Regions from separate parts of the Homo sapiens genome. Here regions 2 and 3 are each linked to region 1. Evidence: promoter capture Hi-C in 16 types of primary human blood cells and fetal thymus (Javierre and others, 2016). All regions are on one chromosome and are shown on one strand. Each heading gives the region's core, a stretch centred on a gene start or on the middle of the fragment in contact. The rest is flanking DNA. Distances are from core to core; before and after follow the strand shown.

The links. The method cuts DNA at HindIII sites, captures the fragments that hold promoters and counts their contacts. A CHiCAGO score of 5 or more calls a contact.
Region 2: a contact is called between the fragment with the promoter of ACP2 here and the fragment with the promoter of ARHGAP1 in region 1, in 1 of 17 cell types (total CD8 T cells). The highest score is 5.3, in total CD8 T cells.
Region 3: a fragment that was not itself captured here is called in contact with the fragment with the promoter of ARHGAP1 in region 1 in 1 of 17 cell types (neutrophils); the score reaches 8.0 in neutrophils.

What each region holds. Positions count from the first base shown.
Region 1 is chr11:46,698,192-46,702,445 of GRCh38, reverse strand. ARHGAP1 (Rho GTPase activating protein 1) reads left to right here and starts at 1,827. Exons shown (of 13, transcript NM_004308.5): 1 at 1,827-1,895. It overlaps ZNF408 (zinc finger protein 408), which reads right to left and starts at 1,415. Exons shown (of 5, transcript NM_024741.3): 1 at 1,347-1,415; 2 at 770-1,047. The coding sequence starts at 1,398. RefSeq lists an enhancer at 1,332-1,621 and a silencer at 1,952-2,071. The HindIII fragment of the contact is 11,026 bases long and covers 1-4,254 here.
Region 2 is chr11:47,246,831-47,250,919 of GRCh38, reverse strand. ACP2 (acid phosphatase 2, lysosomal) reads left to right here and starts at 2,106. Exons shown (of 11, transcript NM_001610.4): 1 at 2,106-2,244; 2 at 2,787-2,882; 3 at 3,193-3,279. The coding sequence starts at 2,131. It also overlaps a transcript of NR1H3 not described here. RefSeq lists a silencer at 1,663-1,830 and enhancers at 1,911-2,420, 2,551-2,640. The HindIII fragment of the contact is 7,782 bases long and covers 1,546-4,089 here.
Region 3 is chr11:47,581,287-47,585,261 of GRCh38, reverse strand. It overlaps NDUFS3 (NADH:ubiquinone oxidoreductase core subunit S3), which reads right to left. Exons shown (of 7, transcript NM_004551.3): 5 at 3,049-3,174; 6 at 2,794-2,913; 7 at 700-948. The coding sequence ends at 781. Among named protein-coding and RNA genes, the nearest start is that of FAM180B, 3.4 kb to the left of the region's middle. The HindIII fragment of the contact is 3,712 bases long and covers 819-3,975 here.

The DNA.
Region 1 (4,254 bases), core at 578-3,077:
TAAACAGAAAAAGTAATAAGGAACACCAGCTTTTTAAAATGGTATTTATTGGGCCAGGCGCGGGGGCTCACACCTGTAATCTCAGCACTTTGGGAGGCCCAGGCAGGCGGATTACTTGAGGCCAGGAGTTTGAGACCAGCCTCACCAACATGGTGAAACCCTGTCTCTACTAAAAATACAAAAATTAGCTGGGTGTGGTGGTGCACATCTGTAATCCCAGCTACTCGGGAGGCTGAGGCATGAGAATCACTTGAACCTGGGAAGTGGAGGTTGCAATAAGGCGAGATCGTGCCACTGCACTCCAGCCTGGGCGACAAAGCAAGACTGTCTAAGAAAAAAGAAAAATAAATAAAATAAAATGGTACTTATTGTGCAGTGAAACCTTTTATCTTCACTATTTCATCAGCTCCTCCATATAATCCCAAGAGAGCCACTGCTTTGTTTCACAGATGAATTAAATGCGGCACGTAATTTAACCAGCTAGGTGACAAAGCTGGAATTTGATCCCATGCTTTCTTAATTCCAAAAACCTTAGCTCTTGACCTTCCTCACTCACTGCTGACACTGTATGATTCCAGCTTTCAACAACTTTTCAAACCTCGATTCTTTAACTACTGCTGCTGAGAGGAGACAGTCCTGAAGAGAAGGGACAAGACTATCTCCTATCTCTTGAAATACTCTCTTTCTTCAAATTGAAAAGCTGTCTAGCAATGTCCAAACCTCCCCTACATTTTCAAGGGCGGAGGGAAGTCGCTCTATCCTTCAATACCTCCTCCTGCCGTGGCTTTACTCCCTCGCCCTTCTCCTTGGAGGCAGACTCCTCTTCCAGCGGCCCCCACAGCAGGCCGGGCTGCAGGGGGTCCCCGACACACCAGACCCCCAAGCGCTGTTCCTTGGCGAGTGAGGGGCCAAGGGCCAAGCCCCGGGGAAGGCTCTTTAAAGCGAGGATGTCTCGGGTCGGCTCGGGTGGGACGTCTTTGAGGCCCTGCGTACAGCCTTCTCCGGAAGGGTTCCATCCTAAGTCCAGGCCCAGGCGCGGCTCGCGGGCTGCAGAGAGAAGGGAAGACAGTGAGGGAGCCACCCAAGAAGGTGGGAGGTGGGGAAAAGTGTGGGAGGAAACCGCAGGTCCAGGTGGGCCTGCGGAGCCCGAGGGACAGGTGAGGGCTCTAAGGAGGGCCCTGAAAGTTTTGAGGAGGCTCAAGGGCTCTTCAGAAGCCCCCAGCGACTCTGAGGGCACTGGAGGATCCTGGGATCCGGAGGAGAGAAGACTGAGGAGAAAGCTGACCACAGAGCGTCAGATCCACCTGGGCCAAGGTTGAGGGTCGCGGACATCGCAGGTCACTCACCGAGTTGCAGCGCCTTCTTCCCCTCCAAGAGCAGCTCCTCCGCCTCCTCCATTCCGGGTCAGAAAGCCTCCCTACGCCGGAAGTGAGCTTCCTCTTCTCAGCTCCTCCAGGAAACAGTCACGGACTTCCAAATTTTTTTCTCAGGAAAGAAGCCTCAGAGCTGGACCTCATTGGTGCACAGGACTGGGAGTTTGGGAGTACTGGGGAGGCAGAACTCTGTCCGAGAGCAATGCGAACCTCGGATTCCGGAGGTGCACCAGTGATTCGACTAGCTGGGAAAGCGGAACTAATTGTTCCAGCCATCTCTTTGGGAGCGACGAGTCGGACAGTTATGCTGTTACCTCCCCGAGGCAGGAACTTAGGCGGGCATGTGCAGGAAGTGGGCGGGGCTCCTGGAAAGGCCATGTTTGGGGCCGGAAGTGGGTTGGAGGTGTGGCGGAAATGGTTGGGGATAGAAGAGAGCGGGAGGGGGCGGTTCCCGTTCCACCGCGGAGCCGGATGTTTGCCGAGCCTTGACAGGCGTGGCAGAGGGAGCAGTGCCCGAGCGCGGTGAGCTGCTGGGCGCGGGGTCTCCCCGGGTGGGGATGGGGAAAGGAAAGGAGCTGGCCAGGTCGTCCGAAGGGATGGGGTCCGGATGGGGAGGACCGGAGCAGATCCGAGGAGGGGAACGGGGGTGGAACTGGGCTCAGAGGCCTGGCCTTCCTGCAGGGTTTCTGCCCCATTTTGGCGCCTGCAATAAGAGGACTTAATCATTTTCACTACCTTCTTCCTGCCTTCCCCAGGGCAGAGTCCAGGCCGGATCGCTGTCATCCAGCAAGCCGGCGGGAGGGGGAAATCTCCCAGATCTGATCTGGCAAAGCACTAAGAAGAAGAAATTTGGGGGAAGTGTTCCTCCTTGCCACTTATTAGGCCACGCTTTCAGTTCAACTTATTTATTTTTTTAAGACGGAGTTTCACTCTTATTGCCCAGGCTGGAGTCTCGGTTCACTGCAACCTCCGCCTCCCGGATTCAAGCGATTCTCCTGCCTCAGCCTCCTGAGTAGCTGGGATTACAGGCGTCCGCCACCACGCCCGGCTAATTTTTGTATTTTTAGTAGAGACAGGGTTTCACCATGTTGGCCAGGCTGGTCTCGAACTCCTGACCTCGTGATCCTCCCGCCCCCGCCTCCCAAAGTGCTGGGATTATAGACGTGAGCCACTGCGCCCGGCCTCAGTTCAACTTCTTAATCTGTGAAACAGGATAATTGCAAAACGTAACCTGGGCTTTGTAAACCGTGAAGCTCTATGCAAACATAATTGTAGTTGAGAGTTGTAATTGCTGTTGTATTGTGGTGGGATTTGCAACTGGGAGGCCGATTCCAACGTTGAGAATATGATTTCTTTTCTTTTTTTTTTTTTAGACGGAGTCTCACTCTGTCGCCCAGGCTGGAGTGCAGTGGCGTGATCTCGGCTCACTGCAACCTCCGCCTCCCGGGTTCAAGCGATTCTTCTGCCTCAGCCTCCCAGGTAGCTGGGAGTACAGGCGCGCGCCACCACACCCGGCTAATTTTTGTATTTTTAGTAGAGATGGGGTTTCACCATCTTGGCCAGGTTGGTCTCCAAATCCTGACCTTGTGATCCGCCCGCCTCGGCCTCCCAAAGTGCTGGGATTACAGCCGTGAACCACCGTGCCCGGCTGGTCCTCTCTTTCCTCACTGTAAAATGAGCTTAGTAGAACATGCCTCATCAGTGCTATCGTGAGGTTGAGTTTGTGTCCCCAGTTCATGGTCCTATATAGGCCCTCAACAAGTGTGGGTTCCCTTCTTTACTTAGGAGATGAATTAATTGGTTCATTCATTCAACAAATGATAGCATCTACTATATATCAGGTGTCATTCTGAATAGACCAGAAGTTCTTAAACAGTGATTCTCAGAAGGTGTATGAACCTCTTAAAATTGCATACATCTCCTAAGTTTTCTTAGGGAAAAAGTCCACACATGTTACCAATTTCAGAAAAGTCTACAACTTCCTAAAAGTGATTGCCTAAGGTGATCCTTAAGATTTTTGTAAAGGTTTACCTGCTGAGAATGGAAAAATTAATCTCAGAGTTGGGTGTATTTTGCACAGAGTAGAGCAGGCTTGTGGGTGGCTGGTGTCTTAAACAGGCAGGATACTTCATTTCTACTACTTGATGTTAGAATTTCCCTGTGCTAGCTTCCTCACCCTCCCACTGAATGGGAGTTTAACTTCCAGGCTCAGAAGTTAAACTGTGGGTTGGGGGTAGTGGGAGGGGCCAGTCTGACTGGGAGATGGGAACCACTGGGCTTAGTTATGCTGGGAAAGGAGGTTATGTGGGGGCGTTGAGGGAGGTCATGTCTGGAAGAACTGACAGCATAGAAGAGCAGTCACTGGAAAAGAGGTGAAGTTCAAGTTCAGCTCCCTTTTAGATGGTGTCCTTCTCCCTCCTTCACATCCACCCCAGCTCCCAGCTGCTCCTTTTTTTTTTTTTTTTGAAACAGAGTTTTGCTCTTTTGCCCAGGCTGGAGTGAAGTAGCTTGATCTCAGCTCACTGCAACCTCCACCCCCTGGGTTCAAGTGATTCTCCTGCCTCAGCCACCTGAGTAGCTGGGATTACAGGCACCCACCACCATGCCTGGCTATTTTTTTTTTTTGTACTTTTAGTAGAGATGGGGTTTCACCATGTTGGCAAGGCTGGTCTTGAACTCCTGACCTCTGGTGACCCACCCACCTTGGGCTCCCAAAGTGCTAGGATTACAGGCATGAGCCACCGTGCCCGGCCCCGGCTGCTCCTTCTAATCCTGTTGTTCACTGCAGCACAAAGTATTTCTGAACACTGGAGAATTATATTTCTGGGAGGCGCCATTGCCTCTACAGAGGAGGAAATTTAGGCCCAAGTAGGAAAAGGAC
Region 2 (4,089 bases), core at 857-3,356, 550 kb before region 1:
CCAAAGTGCCGGGATTACAGGCGTGAGCACGCACCCGGCCAAAACTTGACTTTTAATCCATTCTCAAACTGTGCCCATGCCCAAACTGTGAATTTGGGCAAGTCACTTCCTCTCTTTAGGTTTGTTTCCTAAGCTGTAAAGTAAGAGGACTAGGTTAAATCAGGTATTCAGAGATGCTGATTTATGAAACCTGTAATAAATGGTCTTTGTGAACCATTTGGGATTATATGCAAAATTCCATGTGTGTGTTTATATGTGTGAACATTTTTCTGGAGGAGAGGTGCAAAATTTTCATGTGATTCATAAAGGGGCTTGTGATTAAATAAGAAGGTTAAGAACTGTTTGGCTACCCAGGCTTTGGCTCTTACTCTATTTGCTTCTTGGCCTCCTCCATGACAACTCTGGAAGCAAAGTTTAAATCCTGAAGTATATATAAATAATTGAATCTGGAGTCCTAGGACAAAATAAAGACAGATAATCCTGATCTTTTTTTTTCTTTTCTTCTTTTTGAGACACAGTCTTGCTCTGTCATCTAGACTGGAGTGCAGTTGCACCATCATGGCTCACTGCAGCCTCAACCTCCTGGGCTGAAGGTGATCCTCCCACCTCAGCCTCCCGAGGAGCTAGGACCACAGGTGTGTGCCACCACACCCAGCTAATTTTTAAACTTTTTTTTGTAGAGAGGAGATCTTCCTAAGCTGCTCAGGCTGGTCTCCAACTCCTGGGCTCAAGCAATCTTCCCACCCTGGCCTCCCAAAGTGCTGGGATTAGAAACGTGAGCCACCACACCAAGCCTAATCAGGTTTTTGTTGTTGTTGTTTTGAGACAGTCTCACTCTGTCGCGCAGGCTGGAGTGCAGTGGCGTGATCTCAGCTCACTGCAACCTCCGCTTTCCGAGTTCAAGCGATTCTCCTGCCTCAGCCTCCAGAGTAGCTGGGATTACAGGAGCACGCCACTGCACCCGGCTAATTTTTTTTTTTTTGTATTTTTAGTAGAGACGGGGTTTCGCCACGTTGGCCAGGCTGGTCTCGAACTCCTGACCTCAGGTGATCTGCCTGCTTCGGCCTCTCAAAGTGCTGGTATTACAGGTGAGCCACGGCGCCCAGGCCAAGCCTGATCAGTTTTGTTTCCCAAAGATCTGAGGAGATTTGCTTCCAGTAGGCAGATCTGAATCAAAGCATCCCCAGGACCTATGATCTGACCTGCAACCGTCACAGGAGTCACAAAGTCCTGAGGCCAAACTGGCTGCACCTGAATCCTAATGGTCAATGCCAAGAGGGCCATTGATTCTGTGGAAACCCCACCTACTCCCACTTTATGATATGCGCCTGTCCCTTACCTCAAAATACCTCCCCACTGGTCTGAAATTCCTCCCCCAGGGATTCAGTGCTTTGGGTTTGTAAAGTCTGAACATCCTGTGCAACCCAACTCCTTTGGGAAGAGGCATGACATGACGTCTTGACTCTAATTAACTAAAACTTGGAAGTGGAGGGGAGGGAGGACAGGGAAAGGACTGGAAGGGAAAGTGAGAGGGCTACTGAAGCTTTGTGCAGGGCAGGAACGGTAGGCCAGACTGGGGCAACCTCAAGGACACACGGAGTCCAAAGGGTTGTTTACATACTGTGTCCTGCACCCCAAGCAAAACATCTCCTGGAGAACAGGGCCAGGGCTCAATCTCCCCACAAAGGCAGGGGCGTGGAGAGAAGCGACCTCTACTTTCCCATCCCTCGCCTCAATTCTGCACCCGATCTAGCTATGGGGTCAAGCCTGGAGGGGACGCTGGTTCTCCAGACATGGTCCCGCCCACTGCAAGTGCCACCTTGGTAAGGGATTTCTCCGAGCAGAGGCAAACGCGAATTTGTGGCCTTCTTAATCAAGATGAGGTCTTCGAGCCCTGTCTGCCGCGCCAGGTCGCGTTACCTTCTTATGCTCCTCCGCCACAGCCAGACCACGACCCTCCTGCACGCAATCCCACCGAGACTGCGCCTTTTCCCCGCACCCCAGCAGGTCCCTAAGTAAGATGGCGGCGAACGCACTTCCGGCGTGTGTCCTTACGGGTGCGTCCGGGCGGCTGCTTGCAGGTGCCACCCAGCGGGTTCCAGCTTGTTTGCTGCATAGATTACAACGGTGATGGCGGGCAAGCGGTCCGGCTGGAGCCGGGCGGCTCTCCTCCAGCTCCTTCTCGGCGTGAACCTGGTGGTGATGCCGCCCACCCGGGCCCGGAGTCTGCGCTTCGTTACCTTGGTAATGAGAGATGGGCTCACCAAAGACTTCCCTGAAGCTAAAAGGGCAAAGGCCAGCTGGTGGAGGTCGAGGATCTCGGGAAGGAACAGCTGGTTTAGGAGGGGACGACTGGCCTGGGTAGTTGGGAGGCTGGATTCAGGATTGACCTGGAGCCCTGGCTTATGGGAGTCAGGATGACCGAATACGTCGGGGTGAGTCTGCCTTGAGACAGGGAAGTGGTTGAATGGTTAAGACTCATCCCTAAAGAAGCCTTTGGTTATCTTTTTTCCCCAGTTGTCCCCACCACATACGTTGCTTTCACTTCTCTTTTCCCTTCCTACCTGTACCTTGGCTTTGCCTATGGTCTCCAGTAGCATTGCTTAGCTAAGTTAGAATCTCTGGAATCTGGAAGAAGTGACTGACTCCTAGCTGGGGTCTTTTGCAGCCAGTAGGCTTCCCAGAGGGAATGAGACTTCCTTCCCTAACATGGGGCAAAAGGTAGGCTCTGGGTCCCTATCAAGGGGATGCTTCTGACCTATAGGCAAACCATTTTATTCTCTCAGCTGTACCGCCATGGAGACCGTTCACCAGTGAAGACATATCCCAAGGACCCCTATCAGGAAGAAGAATGGCCCCAGGGGTTTGGTCAGTTAACCAAGGTGGGTCAGAAGCCAGCCTTTCCTCAGGATGAGCTGCAGAATGAGCGACGTCTAGAGCAGTCTACAAAACTTGGGGTCCTACTAAACTGCCTTTTCCCATATGGGTGCTGACTTTGACCAGATTTCATAACCTTAATCTCTGTGCCCATGATATTGCTGTGCATGACTGGCCACTTAATGAAAGACTTCTGGGATCAGATTAATTGACTCCAGCAAAGCGTGAACCTGGAAAGCAACAGGGCCTAAACCCCATGGGGCTTGAAGCCACCCCTTCCCTCTAGACCCTCTTAACCCTTGGGTTTGCCCACAGGAGGGGATGCTACAGCACTGGGAACTGGGCCAGGCCCTGCGGCAGCGCTATCACGGCTTCCTAAACACCTCTTATCACCGGCAAGAGGTAAGGTTGGGAGCTCCAGAGGCAAGGGGAACAAGGTATGCTGCCCTCATCTTTTGCCCTCAGGGAGCCTAAGGCTGAGGCTGGGCACTTTGGCCTCCTTCTTGTATTTTTGGTCACAACTACAGGAAAAGACATCTGAGAGCTGTCTGGAACAAAGCCCTAGGAGCTGAGTTGCCCCTGCTTGGCTGGGATGAGGCAAATTTGATTAAGCATCCAAATTCGGACTTAAGGGCGGGCCTGGCAAAGTGGTTTCTGACTGTGAAATCACAGGCTTTCCATCCAAGACATTGAGTACCTATTAAAGGCCAAGGACTGTGCTAGCACTTTGCATTCAGTTGTGCACCATACAGATATGATCTCTGTCTTCATGGAGCTTAGAATGTTGTGGGGGTATCTAATGATAAACCAGACAGGGCCAAGATGAAAGACAGCGGGGAAGACATGCGTAGAGAGGGCTTGTCTTTTCTTGATCAAGATGAGGTTTTTGAGCCCTGTCTGCTGCGCCAGGTCGTGCTATATTCCTAGGGCACATCAGGGAGGACTGGTGAGTGTGCCTGCTCCTTGAGTCTTCGCCCCACCCCAGGAATGGGGGAAGCTGTTCCTCTGATTACCACTGTCAGCCTCAGCCGTATCAAGAATCCATAGACATTGTTATTGTTCTCTTAAGGCCCAGCTCTGTCCTGAGCTTGTCCTTCCCCAGTTTCCTCCTCCCTTTTCATGAGCCACTATCTCTGAATAAGCTCTTCAAAAAAAATTTTTTTTTTTGAGACAGAGTCTTGCTGTGTTGCTCAGGCTGGAGTGCAGTGACAT
Region 3 (3,975 bases), core at 1,425-3,924, 880 kb before region 1:
GGTGGCTCACGCCTATAATCCCAGCACTTTGGGAGGCCAGTGTGGATCATTTGAGGCCAGGAGTTCGAGACCAGCCTGGGCAACATGGTGAAATCCCATCTCTACAAAAACTATAAAAACTAGCTGGGCGTGGTGGCGTGCATCTGTAATCCCAGCTTCTTGGGAGGCTGAGGGGGGAGAACCGCTTGGGCCTGGGAGGTGGAGGTTGCAGCGAGCTGCGACAGCACCACTGCACTCCAGCCTGGGTGACAGAGCGAGACTCCATCTCAAAAAAACATAAAAGAGCTGGTCACAGTGGCTCACGCCTATAATTCCAGCACTTTGGGAGGCCGAAGCAGACAGATCACCTGAGGTCAGGAGTTCAAGAACAGCCTGACCAATATGGAGAAACCCCGTCTTTACTAAAAATACAAAATTAGCCAGGTGTGGTGGCACACACCTGTAATCCCAGCTACTCGGGAGGCTGAGGCAAGAGAATTACTTGAACCCAGGAGGCGGAGGTTGTGGTGAGCCGAGATCACGCCATTGTACTCCAGCCTCGGCAACAAGAGCGAAACACTGTCTCAAAAAAAAAAAAAAAAACCCATCAAAGACTCCCTGGTTTAGTAGTGCCTCTCTAAGAGAGCAGGGAAACACCCCTGCCTGCCTGTGTCCCCCCCAAAGCATCACTTCTCCACATTACAAGCACACACAAAGTGGTAAGTCTAAGTAGGAATTTATTTACACGGACACTCAATCATAGATAAGGCGCTGTCTAGGATCCACATGCGTTCCCTGGAGCTACTTGGCATCAGGCTTCTTGTCTCCGGCTTCAAGCTTGAGACTCTCCGGGGGTTGGCGATAGACTGGGAAAGCCTCCCAGGGGCTGTTCAGGTCAAATTTGCGGAACTCTTGGGCCAACTCCACCGGCTCTGCCACCACCCGCTTCACTTCATCATCATAACGTAACTGCAGGAGCAAAAGGCAGGCTTGAGCACTAAGGAAGTCCTTATTATAGCTACACAGGAGCCTACTTTTCACAAGGCTATTGGTGACTTCCCCAGCCCATTCCTCTCGGTTACTGACTCCTGTCCCAGCCTCTGTCAGTAAGTCTCCATCCATACCTGTGTTACCCGTCAGATCACATCCCAACCAGCTAGAGTGTGTGATTCCAAAATGTAGGATACCTCTCATGCCCTGCCAGCACCAGTCAGATTCCCCTGCTCACCACTCCCACATCAGGAGCTCCGAACTGACTGCTCACCCACCCACACACTCTTACAAGGTAATGGTAAGCATTTGCCCAGGATTAGGGAGTAGTCGGTGGCTGAAAAGAGTAAACCTAAACTGGCAGATACACAACCTCAGGCCCGGTGCCCTTGGCATATTCACAGTCCAGATCTAAAGCAGTACATTTGACACAGCTTTTCTTGTTACTTGGGGATCAAATGGATAAGGTAAGGATCATCAGGTGCTAGAGTGAAGAGGCAAACCAGGTGAGGCAGATAGCAGGAGTGGGGTGAAAGGGAGAAGCGAGGGAGATAGCCCTGCCCAGAAGTAGCCCAAGAGGGAAATAGGAGCATGCAAAGCACTAACACAGCAGGAGTGACTGGGAACTAAAAGAGCAGGGCTGGAGCACCACATCTCTGCATTTCTAAACAGTTACTTTGCTATAAAATTCACGAGTGATAATATTACACACTATCTTCCTGCAAATAACCTGCAGCACCACTGAAATTCTTTATTCACGTTACTGGTCCCACCTCAGAGGTAATTTTTGAGGGCTAAGCATCTGGTGTCTTCCCCGTCACTGCCTTCCCAGAGAGTCAGGGCAGGGTAAAATAATCCTCTACTTTCAGGTTTTAGGGACAGACTGTGTCGTCAAGGCTGCCTTGATCATTAAAATGATCATTACAATAATGGATAACACTGGCCAGGTGTGGTGGCTCACACCTGTAATCCCAGCACTTTTGAGAAGCTGAGGCGGGCAGATGACTTGAGCCCAGGAATTCGAGACCAGTTTGGGCAACATGGAGAAACCCCGTCTCTACAAAAAATACAAAAATTTGCTGGGCATGTTGGTGCATGCCTGTAGTCCCAGCTACTCGGAGGGCTGAGAGGTGGGAGGATTACTTGAGCCTGGGCGGTCAAGACTGCAGTGAGCCATGATCGCACCACTGCACTCCATCCTAGGTGACAAGAGTGAGACCCTGACACACACACACACACACAGCATCAATTGAGCCTTTACAATACAGCAGGCTTCATACATCATTTATTTATTTAGAGACAGGGTCTCACTCTGTTGCCCAGGCTGGAGAGCAGTGGCGTGATCTCGGCTCACTGCAACCTCCGCCTTCTAGGCTCAAGCGATCCTCCCACCTCAGCCTCTTGAGCAGCCAGGACCACAGGAATGCACCACCATGCCCCGTTAATTTTTCTATTTTTTTGTAGAGAAGAGGTTTCACCATGTTGCCTAGGCTGTTCTCGAACTCCTGGACTCAAGCACTCCTCCTGTCTTGGCTTCCCAAAGTGCTGGGATTACAGGCGTGAGCCTACACATACATTATTTAATGCCAGCCACAAATCTATTAAAGTGCTATTATTATTGCCATTTTAAGATGAGAAAACTGAGTTACAGTCAAACCAAGTAACTTGCCCCAGGTTACAAAAATGAAGCTAGGATCTGAATCCAGGGCCCATGCTCTTAAACCACCACAATCCACAGACCGTATTTCTTGCCATTCCCAGGGATCCCCTGGGTTCTCTGCAAGTCCCTCCCTGAGGCTGCTGTCCCAGTTCCAAGGCTCCTACCTCAACATAGCCAGATAGAGGAAAGTCTTTCCGGAAAGGATGTCCCTCGAAGCCATAATCTGTCAGGATCCTTCTTAGATCAGGGTGGTTAGCAAAGAAGACTCCAAACATGTCCCAGATCTAGGAAAGAGACCACCTCAAACAGCCAATCCATCAAGACTAACAACAGGGGGAAGGGGCTACACTGCATCCCGTAGTCTGAACCAGTTCTGCAACTGTGGCCCAGAGGCAGGTCCACCATATCCGGTAACTCACCTCCCTTTCATACCAGTTGGCTGCCTTGAACACAGAGACAGCAGACTCAATGGGCGTCAGCTCATCTGTGTAGGTCTTCACACGGATCCGTGAGTTGAAGCGCAGAGACAACAGGTTGTAGACAATCTAGGGAGAACAGAAGGATCTGGAGGGCTGAGATGGGAGTCCCTGATTGGGAGAGTTCTGCCCTGTGACCCTGCCTTCTATTCTGAACCTCAAAACCTCAAGATTCTCCTATGCTTACAACTACTTCCAAAGGCCCAGGCCACAGCTGTAGCTTAGCATGTCAGCATGCCTGTGTTTGCTCATGCTATTCACTTTGTCAGGAATATTTCCCTGGTCCATCTCACAAGGCTACCTGGTCTCCTACTCATATTTTAGATTCAGCACAAACATTCTCTCTTTTCAAAGAAGCCTCCCAGACAGGGCCAAGTGCCCCTCCTGCTTTCTTAAAGCATCCCTCTAATATCCTTTGTATTATATGTTACTACAGTAAGCTGTTTAGGTGTCTTTCTCCTTCACTAGAGTGTAGGGGACTCCTGGAGGACAAATACTTCATGTTATTTCTCTCTCCATCCCAGAGTCTGGCAAACAGTAGATAATCAGTAAAATATTAATAGCTAAATGTATTGAAAACACTGTGTGCAAGCAATTTACTTGAACTATCTCATTGGATCCTTATAACCATTCTATAAGATAAGGACAGCTTTATATTTATTTTCCCGGTAAGAAAATGAAAGCTCAGAAAGATTAAACAAGGGCCGGGCATGGTGGCTCATGCCTGTAATCCCAGCACTTTGGGAGGCCAAGGCAGGCAGATCACGAGGTCAGGAAATTGAGACCATCCTGGCCAACATGGTGAAACCCAGTCTTCACTAAAAAAATACAAAAAATTAGCCGGGCGTGGTGGCATGCACCTGTAGTCCC